3 separate regions of the Homo sapiens genome follow, and all the other regions are linked to region 1. The links are contacts of gene promoters, found by promoter capture Hi-C in blood cells and fetal thymus (Javierre and others, 2016). All regions are on one chromosome and are shown on one strand. Each heading gives the region's core, a stretch centred on a gene start or on the middle of the fragment in contact. The rest is flanking DNA. Distances are from core to core; before and after follow the strand shown.

Region 1 (4,213 bases), core at 733-3,232:
GGTGATCCAATCCAAATTAATTTCCATGTCTGACAATTACATTTCCAAACAGCCAACATGGAACATGTTCTATTGATCCTACAATCCAGCTCTAGACAATATGAAAAAGGGGGGAAAACTCCAAATTCAGCATCTTGAACTTAAAAGACCCTTCAGAAACATCACCTTCTCCCCACAACAGTGCTGAAGTAGCTCAGGCCCACTCCACCTATGTTTGTTTCTATCCTGGTACATTCCAATTCTATCAAATCAAAAGGTTATTCCTATTAGGCAGAAGCTGAACCCATCCCCTTGAATAGGGAGGTGTTCATTACATCTGTCTGTGTAATGAACTTGTCATTTCCCCAAACGGTCTGGACAGTCTCCTACAAAAAAAAAAAAGAAAAGAAAGAAAAAAATACTCCATGGAATCTATGGTGTGTCAGTCCCCTTCCTAACATCTGAGTCAGACTACGTGTGTCTTTACTGAGGTTCTGGGTGCCCAGGGTGTATCACTTTCAGAATTGCTTCAGTAACTGAACTATGGCTGTCTTCCAGCCACGGACAACACAAGCACTATCTATTTTAAAACAATTTTCCTAACCCACCGGCAATGGAAGAGATCCCATAGGTCACCGACTTCCTATTGAAAACAAATTATTTCTCTCTCAAACTGCTTGCCGTCTCTCAGAATTAATGCGTGTTTATGTGTGCATATTTTTATCTTTGGCCATGCAACTCTTGGAGCAAAGAGGACCACCCCAAATTTTACCGACATGCCTGAGCCATTCAGAGCTTTAGAAGAGAAATGAACGAGTGCTGAGAGCCCTTAAGCCCAGGACTTCTCTCACACAAACAGTAAGTGGAAAGGAAAAAACAAAAACAAAAACAAAAACTAACCCTCCGTAGAGGGAGGGAGCAGGGTGGATGATAGGGAAAGGACATTAACCAGCAGACCAAAGGCAGCCGCGGCGGCGGCACTTCGCGAACTGCCTGCAGAGGAGAGTGAAATCTGTTTCGTGTACAATAACCAAGCACCCTCTGGCTGCCTCGCATGGGCACGAATAATAAATACACCGAGGTGGGCAAACAGATGCAACGAAACGAGCCACCCCAAAAAGGTCAAAACTTCAGAAATCCCGGGGGTCAAACCACCCACACAAACACATCAATCAGTCGGAGCGAGAGAAGGGACTTGGATACTTAGCAAAGGATCCTAAATTGTGTTTTTCCTTTCAAGCTCTGGCTTGCAAAGTACGGTGGCTACATGCAAAGCTAGAGGAGAGCAGGAAGGCTGAGGGCGGCAGGGTGCGGGTGGGAAGGGAGGGGTGTCTAACACCAGCCACCCAGGCCTCGATGTGACGAAAGTCGTCAGCAGCCCCGACCACATCCCAGCCCCTCCGCCCAGGCCGGCAGACGCCCCTCGCGGCTCCCCCACCCCAGCTTCCGTCCCTGGCAGCAACCCCGCCAGCCCCGCACCAGCAGCAGCCCCGGCCCGGGCCCCGCGCAGGCAGCGCCACGACCGCGGCTCCCATCCCTTCCGTGCGGCAGACACCCCGCAGGCCTCCCTCCCTGCCCACCCGGGGATGCCCGGGTAGCCGAGCCGGGGCGGGCTGCACCGCCAGCTCCCCCCGCCCCAGAGCAGGCAATGGCTCACACTTACCTTGGGCGTTCGCGGGGGGGCTGAAGGTGGCAAGCCTCCCGCCCCCCGCCCCTGTCCTCCTCGTCTTTTTTCTTCCTCCCTCCTCCTCTTCTTCCTCCTCCTCCCCACAGTGTGTCCGGGGCTCCCCCTCCTCCCCGCCGCTTGGAGTAAGAACCCAAAACCCCGAAGCCGGGCCCGCGTGCAAGCGTGCGGGAGGCGGCGGCGCGCGGCCAGCTCTCCAGTAACTGAGCGCGGCGCGCAGCTCCCAACTAAAGTGTGAAAGAAGCAGCGGCCGCGGCGGCCGCGGCACGGAACGTCCCCCCGGGAGTGGGCAGGGAGCGAGCGGGAGCTTGCGAGGAGCGAGCGAGGGAGGGGAGCTCCTCGCTCAGTCACTCACTCGAGGGGCGGGGGCAGCAGACACTCCCCCACCGCCGGCCCCTCCCCGAGCCTAGCTCCCGCGCGCGCCTGGCTCTCCTCCCCGGGGCGGGGCCTGCGGAGGCCGCCGGGGCGCAGCGCGCTGGGGAGCGGGTTGGGGGCTGCTAGGGCTGCGGGGCGGGAAGGAGGCGGCAGTGTGTGTGTGTGTGTGTGTGTGTGTGTGTGGGCAGGTGTGTGTGTGTGTGTACGTGTGTGCGCGCGCGCCCTGCAGCGGCCGGCCAGCCGGAGGGAAGACCCCGGCGGGAAGACTGCGTCCCGTCCGGCCTTCCCGGGCCTGTCACTTGGGCGGTGGCGTGGGAGCGGCGAGGCTGCTCGGGGGGCAGCCGGGTGGGCCCAGCTCTAGGGGAGATTCGGGTCAGCCCCTGAGCCCAGCCTCCCGGCTGTGCCTGCTGGAAGCAGACGGAGGGAAGGCCGGGCGTCTTTGGCCCACCGCGCGGCCGCTCCCCTCCCGGGCCAGGCTGAACGGGCGGGCGCAGCCCAGAGGCCCGGGCTCTGCCACCGATCCGCCTCCATACTGACCCGAGCTGCGGCGCCTGCAAGATTAATGAAGCATCCGCGATTCGGTAGAGGCGGCACGGGGAGGAAAGACACAAGATCGTGCTGCCCCCCTCTCCCCACCCTTCTCAGCCTCCTAGGACCTAAAGGCGTAGGCTGCGTCTGCTGGGCGCGTCCGGAGTGGTCCAGAGAGATCGCCATCCACCACTGCATCCGTCCAGTTCTTTGTGGACCCTCACAGAAGCTCAATCAATTTCCCACCCTCTGGAAAAGGGTATTTTTCTCTTCCCTGGCATATTGGGTGTTTCTTGTGTGCACCTAATTGATCTTTTTCCATTGATAGCCTTTGGATGTCTTTTGTGCGGCTTCCCCGCGCTTCACTGCTCCCTCATTGCCTTAGACACGCGAGGAATGTCAGGCCCCCAGAGTGAGAACACCCAAGAAAACAATAGGGGCAAAAGATCCTCCCTGGGCCTCGCGGATTATGCACAAACCAGATCATTTCCCACATTCGGCCAGGGTGAAGATGGAAAATGGAAAAGAACGCCATCAGAGTGGTGACACTGACGAGAAAAGCCAATTCATAATTTAGTTTAATGAAATGAGTTAGTAATCAACCACTAATGTCTAGGAAATTGGCCTTTTTTGAAAACTGGTTTTCCCTTTCTCCACCCCTTTTTTTTTCAAATTAAAAGACTAGTATCCCACTGTTGTTGTTTTAATTTTTATTGTTTTCAGGGATGGGGTCTGCTGCCAAGGCTGGATTCGAACTCCTGAACCCAAGAGATCCTCCTCAAGGGATCTTCCCCATCTCAGCCTCCCAAGTAGCTGGGACTACAGGCCAATTCCACCGCACCCTGCCTAACATCACATTGTTCAGGAACCTCAACTTACATTCCATTTTTACAAAATATCCATATTCTGGTTCATACTTCTTGGAGCCCAAATTTTTTGTAGTCTAGCCTCTTGGAAAGGAGCGGTTAAGAAGGGAGGGTAGATAAATTGAGATTTCAATCAGGGGCAGCCAGCCCCATCCCTTTCACCACTGGTGACTTGTTTCATTTCTTCTTTCTTTCCTCATCTGTAAAGGCATTGATAATGATCGTTCCTACCTCATAAGCTTGTGAAAGTAAAAAGAAAATAAAACGAGGTGGCAATGCATGTAAAACACTTTGCATAGTGCCTGACACATGGGTGAGAACTCAATAAATAGAAGCTATTGTTTCAGACTTGATTATTTTAAACTCAAATTTGGTAGAATTTTATTCTCTTTCCATTCCTTCTGAAAAGTTAGGGAGGAGAATGGACACAGCTGATGGATTTATTCAAATGTAGTCCACTCTTCCCTTGGGTTTTTACGCCCTGCCTGAAACTTTTGCCTGTGGTAAAATGAAATAAATACATAACTGAGGGGTGTGTGTGTGTGTGTGTGTGTGTGTGTGTGTGTGTGTGTACATCCATATAAAAGGATCTTTGAGCACAATAAGTTTTGTTCTTCCCCCTCCTTTTTCCTTCTCTCATCTACATAGACCACCCTGAATAGACAGAGCTCTGTGATGTTGACCTGTGTACCCCTTCAGGGCTCAGACAGTGCTTGGTACTGTAGATTTCTTGAGGGCAAGGCTATGGGGTTTGCTTGGCTTGATATCCTTAGAACTAACC
Region 2 (4,213 bases), core at 1,018-3,517, 250 kb before region 1:
GAGGTTGTTGGTCAGATTTGGTCCAGGAGGGACAAATTTAGGAAAGATGTTTTGGTTGAACAAAGGAAGGCTAGGACATACTGGATGGGAGGTGGAGAAGGTGGCAGTGGTAACGCTGGCAAAGGGTGTAACCAAAGTGTGATGATGATGGCATGGTGACCCATGTGTGAGTGGCACTGAATGGTTATGTGCCTGGGGACCTGAGTTGGTATCATGGCTCCATCACTTCCTGCTGTGTGACCTTGGGGTACGATACTCAACCTCTCTGAGGCTATTTCCCCAGCCATAAATGAGTGATCAGCACCCATTTATAAGGGATTGTCATGATTACATCAGAGAACATTTAGTCACTGCTCAATAAGTAGCAGAGACTGTTATGAGAATGGATCGACTGGGGACCCAGCAATGGCCTTGATGCCACATTTCACCTGAAGGATGAGGACTTTGCCACAGTTTGGTAGACTTGGCTTCTGCTAAGAAGACCATCTCACCGGTAACTTGAGGGCAGGAACTCAGGGCTGACCATGTTTCAATGTGGGAAGAGGCCTCACTGTGCCCTGGGGTCTTCTTACTTACCCTGAGGACTCTACTTATTTCTACTTTGGAGGCTACTCAAGCTTTTCTTTTCCAATTACCTCTAAAGGGGGAAAGGGGAGACAGGTGTTTGAAGCCACTTCTGTGGCTTGTAGCAGGAACCAGAGAGGGCCCAGGGCACGCAAATCCCACTGTATTGGCAGAAACACAAATACACAAATACCAGATGGATAATCTCAAGGATTAAAGAGGATTTAGGGTGACCTGATTTAAAGCTTCCTTTTTTCCTTTTTTGGGCAAAGCCTGGGAATAGGGGGTGGGAACTCAAGACAGAGCCTTGTTAGAGTCTTGAATTTTCACTTGTAGAGTGATGGAGCTTTGGGAAGGGGTTTCTCCTTCATGTTTGATGGCATCACATGCCATCAAACCTGATCTTTACATCTAAAACCCCATTTGTATTCCAGTCTGATAATGGGAGACTTGCTTGCCTGTGGGCCCCAGGTTGAGTTTGTGATTGACAAGAAATGTCCAGAGGAGTCTTCAGTGGACACAAAAAGCCTCTGGGAAATCAGCCAGCACTCCACCCAGCATCCCCACCCCCTAGATGGGCCACTAGGGAGCAGGATGGTGGCAGATCAGTCTCTACAATGGCTTTTTATTGGATTTTCTCTGTTGGTTGTATTCCAAGCTGTCAGTCCCTGATAGGACAGCAAGCCATGAGAACCTAGCGTCAAGTTGATGGCCAAGTGCCGAGCATACCAATGACCAGAACTCTGCAAACAATTGGAGCAAGTGCTTGAAATTCCAGCCATGAGCCTGGCCGCTCCACATGAGAGGATGCATATGTCTTGGGTAACATACCGGTTGGCAATTACCAAACTCACTGGGATGATCTTTTACCAGGAATCCAACCACTGCAGCCCCCATTATAGTAACAACCCCTAATGCCCCTTCCAAAGGCATCAGGTGTGTAAGTCCTGCTTTTCTGTTTATTCAGTGGAGGGGACCCTGCAGAGAGGATAAGCAGCTACTGTCCTCAGCCCCTTTAAGCCAGGGATCCCTCCTTCATACAAAAGTGTTCCTGGGGATTTGCTTTCCTTGTGGTTTGTTGGTCATGTCTTATAGGGAAGGGGCTCATTGCCTGGATGCCTATTCTAGCCTGAATGTGCCTCCCACGGCCGGCGTGTTCTGAGGGATGGGGGTCAGCTGGTTCAGGAAAGGGTAGGACAGGTCTGGGCTGTTGCCTGAGGTTAGCTCAGGGGGATAAAACTCCTGTACAGTAAGGGAGTTCTCAGCAGAGGTTAGCAGGTCCCCTGTCAAGACAGCTTCAAGAATTCTTTCTTCAGGATGGCTTGAGCAAAAGCATATCTGGGACCCAGCTGAATTGAGGCTTTTCCCTAGCCTGAACTCTTGGTCTTGTAGGGGTTGGTTCACTCTCTTGTCCTATTTCAACAAGAGGGACGCTCCTTCATGCATCACTGGGGAGTCCCTGCACAGAACCTACTCATTCGTGGCTGCCTATTCTCACCACCTTCTCCTGAAGGATTCTTTTGAGTTCCTTTCCCGGGCTCTTGCAGCCCGTTGGAGTACGTGTTTGCAAACCTGCACCCTATCATCTCCAAGTTCTTCAGAGGCAGGCTTTAGTCTGTTCAGCTTTGTTTGCTGGTGCCCAACTCAGTGGCATGCAGGGTGGACAAGTTGTTCTCAAACACTCCCTGTGGCTCGGTTGCCTGAGGTGAGATGATATTTACAATGCCAATGCTGGGCCCCATGCCCAGAGATTCTGACTCAACTGACCTGAGGTCTGGACATGGGCCGTCTAAGCTCCCCAGGTGATTCTAGTGTGCAGCCATGACAGAGGCCCAAAGGAGACCATCAATGAATCAACAAGGTGGCTCTGACCAAGTGACACCTCCTTTTTTCTCTTTCTGGTGGTGAGGAAGCAGATTCTCAACCTCTATTCATCTTTAGCATCTATCCATGGTTAATACCATTTGTTTGAGCCATACAACTCTTGGAGAACCAACTTCTGGAGGGAGACCTATTGGCAGGCATGTCTGAAACTGCACTGAAGAACTCACTGAGTCTTATGAAATCCCTGTCTGCAACAGACTGCGTGCTCTCATTCTCCTCCAGCTCTACTCTGTACCTGCCACTGTTTACTACACTGTAGATCCCGGCTCCCAAACTTGGTACTTGTCAGAATCCCCCACTCCAGTAGTTACAAATGAGACCTTTTGAGGGGTCAGATGTCAGAGGCCATGTGTGTGTGTGTGGGTGTGTGTGCACGTGTATGTGTGTATTTCAAGCCTCCTCAGTGATTCTTCTTATGCATTTGCAGAGTGGGACCTGCTGTCCCAGGTCATCTCAGCCAGTCAGTCAATGTTGCTCAAAACTCTGGGGGGTGCTCTCCCCTGAGGGACTCTGAGTCCTTGTGGAAAGAGCTGTGGCAAGTCCAAAAGGGCTGTGTGTGAGGGTCTGGTGGGTGGGGGGGGGGCAGGCAGCCCTGGGGGGAACATATATGTGGACAAGATGTTTTGTGCCAAATTGTAACACACCCAAGAAGACTGAATAGAGCCTCATCCAGGGCAAAGATGATGAGTGAGATCTGATCCGAAAGCAATTGTTGAGGTCCAATCCCACATGCAGCATACTAAAGCTGTGGGACTTCAGAGGAAGAGACAGTCTGGGACTTTGGATTAGTAACATGATGTGATCGGAGGAAGTTAAAACTTTGTCTCCTTCCCATGTCATCTACATATGAAAACTAGAGACAAGGACACAGAAATAGGAGATGAAGCAGATTTGAAAAGCCACCAGAGCTCTGAGAGGAGTGGTGCCCATTCCCTGTCACACCGTCACCGTTCTCACCTGTGGCTGACTGCAGCACCCAAAGCTCAACCAGCTGCAGTCTATCACCAACATGAAGTTGCTCCTAGAGCACTCTTTGTTCCTTTAAAAATGATAAAATAGTACAAGCACGCAGGAGTATAGAGAATATTGTCCCTATGTCTCCATATTTTCTTCAGCTGATGTTTTAAAAGACTAGAACATTGTTAACCCTCACCTGTGCCATTTCCTGCCTTCTTCCTGCTCTTCTGAAATTGGTATTTATGTTTTCCATGTATGTTTTTATACTTTTACTATACATGTAAGTATCCACACATAATAGATATGGTTTTGCAAGCTTTCAAACTTTATATAAATGGTGTCATACTGTATCCTTTGTGTGTTTTTCATTCACTGTTGTATTTCTGAGGTTTATCCCTATTGATACAAGATCAACTTCATTATTATTTATTTATTCATTCTTTTTCTGAAGGGTGCTAAGATTGTGTCCCATTTTTTACTGTTAGAAATAATGCTATAACATTATTTACAATGTATGTTCTGTAGCCATGTCCTTAAACACAGGTGTTCCACTCTCTGTGATCATCGCGTCTCTCAGACCTGCTCCTCACCTGGCCTAGGCTCTGCTCTGGGGTCACCCTTCCTCAGCATGGCAACTTGGCTCTTGAAGACCAAGTTGCACTTGAAGACCAGGTCTTACTCACCAGAATTCTCCCTGGATCATCCTTGTCAGGGATTCCTACCCCACCTTGCCACCCACACCCGGCCCCTCCTAAAGGGAATGTTCTTTGGCAGGAACGAAGGGCATATGTTAGGTCATACGGTGAGG
Region 3 (4,213 bases), core at 525-3,024, 180 kb before region 1:
TTAATTTGTTCCTTACATGAGGTCTTATGTATATTCTTCACTGATGTTCCCTTGATAATCTGATAATGGAGAAACACAGCTTTTGATTCCTTGTCTCTTATGGTCTCTTGTAATCATAAACACAATAACAACAAAAATAATAGCTCTCATTGACAGCACCCCTCCCAAGAGCCAGACACCTGACTAAGGCCTGTGGACATTAACTGAGTTAGTGCAGATGAAATGCCAGGCACAAGTCCTGCCATGTGGTAAGAGCCCAATAGATGCCAGCCATTACTATTATTGCTGTTATCTGTATTAATTGTTATCATTCAATCCTCATAACAACTATATGAGGTAAGCATTCCCACAGTTGAGAACATTAAGAAGAACATCAAGGAAACAAGGCCATAGAGTTACTGGTCAAGAGGGGATAGAAACTCTGCATGTCCATCTTTTTCAATAAATACTTTACATTCTTAAAAAGGCCAAATCTATATAAATTAAAGAGGATGAGGAAAAGAGCAGTCCACATATTTTTAAACTCCCCCCTTATGTTCCAATATCTAATGATGAGAGAGGTCTGGAAGGGACACACAATTTTAATGACAGGGCAAGAATCCTGGAAATCCCCCAATGGCCATAGATGATAAACAGCAGCTGCCCCTTTCCAGCCCAAAGCAAGTCAAAGCCAGGCAAGTCATGGAAAGGGATGAAGTGTCTCCAGCAAACAACAGGGGGTAGAGGGACCAGGTATAACTGGTAAGATAAAGCCTACTCGAAAGGCAATCAAAATTCTTCTAAACGGTCATTCAAGTTGACCAAGTAATACATATAGCCGGCATTGATACTAGGTAAAGCCAGTTGTTAAACACAGTCACATGCTGCATAACAGCATTTTGGTCACCGATGAACTGCATATATGACAGGGGTCCCGTAATATTATAATACTGTATTTTTACCGTACCTTTTCTTTTTTTTTTTTTTTTTTTTTTGAGACGGAGTCTCGCTCTGTCGCCCAGGCTGGAGTGCAGTGGCGGGATCTCGGCTCACTGCAAGCTCCGCCTCCCGGGTTCACGCCATTCTCCTGCCTCAGCCTCCCAAGTAGCTGGGACTACAGGCGCCCGCCACTACGCCCGGCTAATTTTTTTTTGTATTTTTTAGTAGAGACGGGGTTTCACCGTTTTAGCCGGGATGGTCTCGATCTCCTGACCTCGTGATCCGCCCGCCTCGGCCTCCCAAAGTGCTGGGATTACAGGCGTGAGCCACCGCGCCCGGCCTTACCGTACCTTTTCTATGCTTAGAGATGTTTAGATGGACAAATACTTATCATTGTGTATAAACGCTTGCAAGATTCAGCTCAGTGACATGCTGTACAAGTTTGTAGCCTAGGAGCAACAGGCTATACCATAGAGCCTAGGTGTGTAGAACCTGTGTAAGTTCACTCTATGAGGTTCACATGACGACAAAAATCACCTAAGGATGCATTTCTTTGAACGTTTCCTGGTCGTTAAGCAACCCATGACTGTGAATACGCCACTTTCATTACATCTGGCAAGATGTTCTGCCTTAGCACTCAGTTGCATTATTTTCCTTTTCTTTCCTGTTCACTATGCTTTAATTCTGAGGACTATAGGAGGGTAGAATATTACTTTTTAAAAACTTTAAAAATGTGTCTAAGCACACCCTTTTCTTAAATTGATGACTTGATGTTAAAATATTATTTTTCATGTCATTTATAATCTTATCAGAATCCATTTAATGAAGTTTGGTTAGACTTCAGTGAAAATTATCTTCCAGAGTTGTTTGCCCTGCCTGAGATATAGGGGTAACTTTACTACAATTAGTATGTATAGTGCAGAATTTCATGCAAGGGGACTGTGGCAGCAGTGTGATAATTTAAACAACATTACAATTTAAACATATTTAACAATTAAACATAAACATATTTAACACATTTCAGCATATTTAACATAATTTAAACTTATTAAACATTATTTAAACATTCAAACAAACAAAACAAAAAGGATATACGCGCAAACTTGCTGCTACTTAGATCACTGCAGCTTCTAGGATCCCATGTCTTTTACTGATTTAAAAACACAGCGAAAATAAAAAAATAAAAAAGTTGTGCCTGAAAAATATATATTTAAATCTTATTTAATATAGTATAAAATTTGTTTGCCACCTCTACCTAATTCCTTGTTCTAGGGTGAACAAGGCAGAATGATATTACATAACTAAGTGGCAGCTTTTCCCTCAAATAAATATCCTTTACCTATTATCAAGAGGAAACTGCAGTTTCGAGGATGATTTGGATAGACCAGACTGCAGTGTCCATGCTACTTTTTGAAGACTCAGTTAAAGGGCCCTAAATTCTTGGCTTCTGTAGGCTTTGGCTTAGGACATATGGCTATGCCATAGTCCTCTCCACAGCACAGTGACCTCTTCCTGAACTGACAACAGTAAGTCCTTTACCAACCCTAGCTCACTGTTCTGACATCCCTGGCCCCAATCTTCAAAATAGTACCACCCTGTCACAGCCAGTTTCTATCATCATTCTGTCTTGTACAAAGTTTTATTATCTATTTTATTTTTTAGGGATGGAAGTCTTGCTATATTGCCCAGGCTGTCCTCGAACTCCTGGCCTCAGGTGATTCTCCATCCTTGGCCTCCCAAGTAGCTTGGACCAGAGGCACCTGCCATTGCACCCAGTCTGGAGTTTAATTTTATTTTTTCCTCCAAATTAAGTAGTTGTCTATTTAGGTAATTTTATTTGAAAGGAGAATACCATAATCCAGAAATGAATGAGCATTTCCTCATTTAACCTTCCAACGTTCAGCCTCTGACAAAGTGTAAGGCAAGTAACAGAATTTAGCTTATCTGTATACAAAAGGACTTTCAACCACGCTCTGGAAAATGTGCACACTTTCATTTAATGACCACTGATGATGGAAATGAGAAGCAAGTGGCAATGGGAACTGCTGCTTCCTTGTCCAAATTAGCGAACCACCACCTGCTCTACTGCTCTGTATCACTGGAACAACTCCAGTTCCTCCAGAGACTATGAAAAGGAACTGCAGAAGCTAGTCAAGGTAGCATGGTACACTCCATCAGGCTTGTGAAGAAAAGCAAAAGAAAACACCATGCTGACGCCCTCTCATCCTGGGTAGAACCACTGTCTCCCTCCCTATTCTTGGCAGAGACTTATCCCAATGCCTTGGCTTATCTGTTTACATATCTGTCTCTTCTTACTACAGGCTCCTTTAAATGCTTCAACTTAATAAAATGCAAGCCCCTAAAGACGGTGTTCACGTCTTATCCATCTTTGTATATAGTAGGTAATGTGGTAGGTACTCAATAAAGGTTGAAAGAAAGAACGAATGAACATTTGTCCTCCTTTACTTGTGTGCTACACGGTTCAGTAACATTAATCCCACTCAGAATGAAGCTGGGCACAGAAAGGGCAGAATGACCTTTGGAGCTGAGGCACAAGAATGGAGGACCATCAAAGAGAAGGAGTGGTGCTTTCATTGTAACCTTGACTAAAATTGTGACTGTGGCTCCATGGGAGAAAAAGAGAGCAAGAAACAGCAGTCACCCCAGTGCATGGGCACCATCACTTTTAAGCTGAGTTATAAGAACCTCAGGGTGTTTTTTAAAAAATAGGTTTTAAGTTACTTCAAGGAGGAAAAAGAGCTTAACATGCATCATTTTACTCTAAATATCTTTGAAATATTTTCACCATAAGACTTTTAGGTTGTAATGCCAATAAATATCAAATATTATTCCCTTATAATACTCACAGTATCACATAAGAACTTCTCTAAAATGCACAGCAGCCTGGAGTAGTCAAATTCATGGAGACAGAAAGTAGAATGGTGGTTGCCAGTGACTGGGAACAGCGAGGAAGGAGGAGTTAGTGTTTAATGGGTACAAAGTTTAAGTTTTGCAAGATGAAAAAAGTCCTGGAGATGGATGGTGGTGATGGTTGCACAATAATGTGAATGTACTTAATGCCACTGAACTGTATTCTCAAAAATGATTAAGATGATAAATTTTATATTATGTATATTTTACCACAATTTTTTGTGTGTGTATGTGGTAAAAGGAAAGTCGCTCTCAAATGCTAGCAGATAGGAGAATGCCTGGGCTCTAGCCTCAAGGGTATCACTTCAAACTTTAGGCTAGAGAGAGGGTTTTAAAATGGTGAACATGGAATGGGAGGTGTGCA

The links. The method cuts DNA at HindIII sites, captures the fragments that hold promoters and counts their contacts. A CHiCAGO score of 5 or more calls a contact.
Region 2: a contact is called between a fragment that was not itself captured here and the fragment with the promoter of C1orf21 in region 1, in 3 of 17 cell types (M1 macrophages, M0 macrophages and megakaryocytes). The highest score is 6.3, in M1 macrophages.
Region 3: a contact is called between a fragment that was not itself captured here and the fragment with the promoter of C1orf21 in region 1, in 2 of 17 cell types (M1 macrophages and megakaryocytes). The highest score is 6.1, in M1 macrophages.

Annotation. Positions count from the first base shown.
Region 1 is chr1:184,384,798-184,389,010 of GRCh38, reverse strand. C1orf21 (chromosome 1 open reading frame 21) reads right to left here and starts at 1,982. Exons shown (of 6, transcript NM_030806.4): 1 at 1,643-1,982. C1orf21-DT (C1orf21 divergent transcript) reads left to right here and starts at 2,307. Exons shown (of 1, transcript NR_172919.1): 1 at 2,307-3,258. RefSeq lists silencers at 1,947-2,206, 2,237-2,346, 2,437-2,496. The HindIII fragment of the contact is 4,352 bases long and covers 1-3,673 here.
Region 2 is chr1:184,631,036-184,635,248 of GRCh38, reverse strand. No RefSeq gene overlaps it. Among named protein-coding and RNA genes, the nearest start is that of EDEM3, 120 kb to the left of the region's middle. The HindIII fragment of the contact is 2,912 bases long and covers 812-3,723 here.
Region 3 is chr1:184,568,058-184,572,270 of GRCh38, reverse strand. All of the region lies in intron 3 of C1orf21 (chromosome 1 open reading frame 21), which reads right to left. Among named protein-coding and RNA genes, the nearest start is that of C1orf21, 180 kb to the right of the region's middle. The HindIII fragment of the contact is 8,987 bases long and covers 1-4,213 here.